2 separate regions of the Homo sapiens genome follow, and region 2 is linked to region 1. Evidence: promoter capture Hi-C in 16 types of primary human blood cells and fetal thymus (Javierre and others, 2016). All regions are on one chromosome and are shown on one strand. Each heading gives the region's core, a stretch centred on a gene start or on the middle of the fragment in contact. The rest is flanking DNA. Distances are from core to core; before and after follow the strand shown.

What was found. Contacts are between HindIII fragments. The CHiCAGO score rates a contact against its expected background, and 5 or more counts as called.
Region 2: a fragment that was not itself captured here is called in contact with the fragment with the promoter of FNDC3B in region 1 in 2 of 17 cell types (naive B cells and total B cells); the score reaches 11.1 in naive B cells.

The regions. Positions count from the first base shown.
Region 1 is chr3:172,038,206-172,040,973 of GRCh38, forward strand. It overlaps FNDC3B (fibronectin type III domain containing 3B), which reads left to right and starts at 1,373. Exons shown (of 26, transcript NM_022763.4): 1 at 1,373-1,566. RefSeq lists enhancers at 1,193-1,860, 1,861-2,527 and silencers at 1,446-1,625, 1,766-1,865, 2,046-2,295, 2,356-2,725. The HindIII fragment of the contact is 7,479 bases long and covers 1-2,768 here.
Region 2 is chr3:177,357,107-177,359,874 of GRCh38, forward strand. No RefSeq gene overlaps it. Among named protein-coding and RNA genes, the nearest start is that of LINC00501, 64 kb to the left of the region's middle. RefSeq lists enhancers at 1,009-1,208, 1,329-1,568, 1,455-1,749, 2,423-2,768. The HindIII fragment of the contact is 2,538 bases long and covers 155-2,692 here.

The DNA.
Region 1 (2,768 bases), core at 123-2,622:
CCAAAGAGTCTGGAGCCAGAGAAGGCATTTGGACTCAAATGGGATCTATTGGATTGTACCCTATTGGCACTAAGGAACTACTGCCTACCCCCCGCCCCGGCTTCTCATGCAGGACTATGACCTAGAATTGGAGTTATGTTATAGAAAGATGGCTTCAAGTTCCCCTTTGAGGAGCTCCACAGTAAATAAGCCATTTAGGAGAGAGGTCCCCATTTCTCTGGACTCACCATTGCCTCCAAAAAAAAAAAAAAAAGGCTAAAATCTCCCCAAAAGAATGGCAAATGAACAAGGGAAGGAAGGAGCTATTTCTTAGTGTTCTTTAGACTTTAACAGAGTATTATGTACTGCTATTATTATTTTTTAGGTTAACAAAAGTAATACATTGTCTCTAGTGACTCCCTGAATGCTCCTTTGTAGCTTAATAGTTGAGGCTGAATGTAGCTATTCAGAATACCTGGACAGCTATGGATGGAAGGGGCTTCTCTAGGCTAACTTTTGCTCTCTTGTCTCCTGAATAATCTGAGGGGTGGCATGGGATGCAGTCTGTTAACCTCTTAGAGCCTGTACAACAGAAATACATTACATTTGACTTAATATGAACTCAACAGTTATTTAATGAGTCCTATTGTGGTCCTTGCACTGTGCTATATTTTACGGATATAAAGATAAAAGTAAGAAACAGTCTTTGTCCCTGAGAAACGCATTGTGAAATAAGGCTGGGTGAGTTGGCTCACGCCTGTAATCTCAACACTTTGGGAGGCCAAGGCGGGAGAATCACTTGAGCGACAGAGTTCCAGACCAGCCTGGGCAACCTATTGAGACCCCCTCTCTTCCAAAAAAGGAAAAAAAAAAAAAAAAAAAAAGGGTGCGGTGGCTCATGCCTGCCCCGTGCCTGCAGTCCCCAAAACAAACAACAACAACAACAAAAAACAAAAAACAAAAAGAAAGAGGAAAGAGAGATTTTAACTTAAGTATAATAAAAATTGCTCATACTATGTTAGTTGTATGAATAAAATGCTGTGGGAAATGTGGGAGTAATATAGCTCACAAGGTTGCTGTGGGGGTTAACAACAACAAAAAGCGAAATATATGTGTAAATGAAAAAAAGTCAGTTTTAGGCTTAATTATCACTGAGTAAACATTGCCTTTATATTACTTTGGCGATCTGCAGAACGCGCAGCCCTCGCCATTCAGGAGTTGTTAGTTCCCTAAGCCTCAGGTTTCTTTAGTCTGGCTGAACCAAAAGGAGTTTCTGCTTAGCTAGGCAGGGCCGGGGGACAACAGCTTCTGCGAGTCTGCGATTGTGGCGGCCGGTATATTCGGCGGTTTACGGTAATGGGCGGGCCCCAAATCCCCATGTGGTCCCGACATCATTGACATGGCGGAATCCCCCATCAAACCCTCCTGGTAGTTATTTGAGCGGCGGCGGCGGCGGCTGGAGGAGGAGAGCGGCGGCGGCGGGAGCAGCGAAGGGGGCGGCAGGGATCCTCCAGGCTGCCGGCTGGGAAGGCGTGGGCGACCCGGTGTGTGGCGCGCCCAGAGCCCCGCGTTTCAGCCCTAGGGAAGGTAAGGCGTGCAAGAGCCGGGGACTAGAGGAGACCGGGACCCCGAGCGCGATCGCCGGGTCCCGGTGCACTGGAAAGCCCCGGCCTGACGCCGAGTCCGCCAAAGTGCGTCCCTGTCCCGGGAGCGCCCTGGGCTTCCCGGCAAAAACTTGGCGCCGGAGTGCTGGGGCGCCCCGTGCTCGCCTGGGCACCCCGGGAACACGGGACCCGGGAGGGGGCGGCCCCCGCCTTGCTGGGCTGGGGTCCCCCGCCTGTGCCCCCTGCCTCAGGGTTTGGAGGAGTGAAAGAAACGGGTAGATTCCTCTTAAAAAAAATTGGGCAGTGGCTCGCGGCCTCCCCCCACCCCCAGCCTTCCCAGCAGATTTTGTCCGAGGAATCCGCTCCCCCTCCCGGAATCTCCGCGGCAGGAACGCTGCCCAGGAGGGGGAGGGCGGGCGGCGAGGCCGAGGAATCTTCGACGTGTCACTTTCTGAGGCTGTAGATTTCCATATGGTGGAGGGAAGAGGGCGGGAGTGCGAAGTGGGGCTGGAAGTTGGGGCCGCCTCTCCGCGCCGGCGGGGGCGGTCGGGGGCCTCGAACCCGGGGATGCTCGCGGGGAGGGTCCCGAGCCCGCGCCGGCCTGGCCCCCCCGTCCCCGGCTGGGCCTCTCCGGGACACTCCCCGCCCCGCTGCTGGCCACCTCCGAGCACGCCACGTCCTCCTCCCCGTCCTGCCCCCCGGGCTCCCCCCGGGCTGGGGGCGGTAACCGGCGGCCGCGGCCGGACTTGGCGAGCCGGCGGCTGGAAGCTCGGGCGGGGGAGCGGGGCGCGGCGGGAAGGAGCGGGCGACCCGGTGTGTGGGCCAGCGGAGCTCCGGTCAGTCGGTCACCCCGAGGGGCGCCTCGGCCGGGGATAGGGCGGGCGGGCGGAATCTGCGCCCCGAGGCGGCCAGGAGGGGCCGCGCGGACCGTCTGGTGCCCGCGGCTGGGCTGGGGCCGGCAGGCGTGGGAAGGGCCTGTCACTCTCGGCAGAAAGTGGGGCCTCGGGCTGTGCCCGCGAACTTTCCCAGAGGTCCGGGTCCCGGCGTCCCGTGGGAACCGGAGGACCCGGGCCCGCCGTCTCGGGAGACTGGGCTGCGCCGCCCGGCGGCGCCTTTGGCGGGGAGGCTTCCAGGAGTGCGCGGTCGGAGTTGGAGCTTTTGGAATCTCAGCTCCCACCCTGCCAT
Region 2 (2,768 bases), core at 174-2,673, 5.3 Mb after region 1:
CACTGCTTGGAAAACAAAGTAACATCAGGGAGGTCTGGAAATAAAATGTTTCAAGTAGTTGGAAAGTCAACCAGATAAAATGCTGCTGAGAGACAGCAAGGGGTGCAGACTGAGAAATCATTAGTCTTAGCACTTACTCTTCCATAACCCTCAAAGCTTGTCTAACAGTGATTCTTTTCTGCCTTTCTCCTTCATTATATGATAAATTGCTAGAGGGTTTAGACCTCCTTTTAAATTCACCTTTATCTCTCTGGGCTCAACAGGGTGCCTTAGGAACAGGGTAGACTGCACAGTTCCTGACTGAAAATAACACTGGCAAGGAAACACCCCAAGGTGCTATCAGCTGCCAGATGCCAGAAGGAAATGGAAGGGCCTGGACTGCTCCCTAAAGAGCCTGACCCAGAAGCGGTGTGTAACAGGTTCCACTCAATGCCTTATAGGCTGAAAATTGCTCTGTCTTCTCAGAGCTAGAAAGGGTGTTCAGATAAGGCAGGGTGGGACCCTGACTCATGGACACACAATTAGCCGGCTTTTGTCTTTGAATCTGACTGGAAGTGACTCATGAGCTGGAAAAAAACCCTTTGGAAACAAATGAAGGGGGAAAAAAGGAGGGTAAGCCACGACTGCATTTTACTCTGTTAAAATGCAGATCTGCTGTCCTATAAATGTAGAATACTGTACATTTCCTCAGCCTCCCTCCAACAAAGACCCAGGGGAAATTATTAAGCCTGACAATTCACTCATTTTCTCCAAGATTTTTATTAAATGCAATTTAGAGGGGATAAAGTTTCTTCTCTTTTCTCTTTCTATTCACTTGAATAAGCCCTAATTACCACTAGGGTACAATAAATGGGCTTCTAGAAGTCTGTGGCAATTGGCGATGCTTCCCCTTTAAATTAACCAGTTGAAGCCTCCAGTTTCAACAGCCACCAGGGCACTTCCCGTCCACTCACAACTTGCTCAGTGCAATCTGAAGAGCATTTATTGAGCACCTTGTTATGGGGCACTGACATATGCTGCGGAGGATAGAAGACTTCTCGGGGGGTTATAATGGGGCTGGGGAGCTCTTGAACTCAACTGACATACTGTGTAAGTTAAACTAGTAAATGCCATGGGATTTTTGGATTAGAAGCAACAAAAACACAAACTAGGTTAAACAATAAGAATTTGTGGCAAAAAATAATGGGCTGTCGCAAGGAATCGGGGGCAGGCAGGGCTGTACCAGGGACACAGGAACCGATGCTGCCAATAACATTAGACTCCTGTTGGCCTCAGCGCTCTCTCCCAGCCTGTCTGGCTGTGGCTGAGGCTCTATCTTTGTTTTCTGCTCGATCTTTATCTCTGTTTCTGCCTTCAGATTGGCCTTGCCTCTCCTCTCCTGACCATGGGAAACATGGTCATGTATGTTATAATATCTTGCAGTTTTAGCCCTGGGGAGAAACTGACTTTTTCACTTCCAGTTTCAAAATTTCCCAAGAAGGCTTTTGATTGGATTCAAATATGTCAGCTCTTCCCGCTGGGACCAATCCCCTGTGGCAAGGTGGGGGAGGGAAATTTGAGAAGGGCCGTGAATGGTCCAGCTTAGGTCAGAGGTACAGTTTCCACGTCCCCACCCCCACCCCCGCCCCGTCAACAAAACAGCTCTGCCCTGTAAGCCTGTGGGTGTGGGTGAAGGTGGAAGTGGGTCGGAAGAGGCTGCGGGCTCCACTTTGCCAGGAGTGTAGGGGGAAGGGCTGAGTTGAGGAAACAATGGGTCTAGCACTTCTGCTGACCTTGTTTTCAGAAACAACCACAGGGCCTCTGGCCCCAGTGGAACTTGACTCATAAAGGCGAGAGACTTGACTATTGAAAAAGGTCTCCTATGAAATCTGAATTTCACTTAATCCTCAGAACAACTGTTGAGGGGGTTGTTACTACTCCCATTTTAAGACGCGGGCTGTAGAGAGGGTAACCACCCTGTCCACATTCACACAGCGAACACGTGGTGGGGCAGGGCTCAAGTCCAGGCGATTCCAAAGTCCCCCCGTGCTGTTTGCGCCACGCGGTGCTCCCACCAAGCCCACTCCGCGGGGAGAAAAACCATAGGCCTCGGAGGAGGAGCGGCTCCTCGCAGTGGGGTGGGGCAGAGGCCAGCATGAGGCCTTGTTCACTGGAGGATTCCACAGGCCTGGAACGGAAAGAATGAGAGCTCTGCAGGCAGGCAGAGCCCAGGGCGCCCAGTGCCCCCAGGCTGCGACAGCCAAGTCGGTGGGCGCGCATGGCGGGGCTTGAAGGAAAGGTCCAGAGCCGGTGGGAAAGGCCACGCCCCGGGGTAGAGCGCTTCCTTCCAGATCCCGGCCTTTAACTGCAATTCCGTTTTAAGGGCAACCCTGCCCGGTTCACACCTAGCCTTGAAGATGACAGATTGCACTGTGAGCAATTTGCAGGGTGAGAACGGGAGCCTACGACTCCGCACCTGCACTGCCAGAGCCATAAATGCAGCAAATCATGGCCTATAAAATGTCACCACTGCTGAAGTGCAATTTTCCAGGGGTCTTCTGCAGAGGGAACTCCACCACGGAGAGCGACCCTCGGCTCTGCAGCCTAAGAGGAAGGCCCCTGCAGGGTGGGGGAGGGAACAGGGAGGTCTTCCTCCCCATCCCCTTCGTGCCACTGCTCCCCCCTTTGTGACCCCACTCTGCCACGTGGTAAAAGCTTCCGGGGGGAGGCATTAGTTATTTCTGTCTGAGGAGTTTTTGACCAAACGTAAACATCAGAGGAGCGGGAAC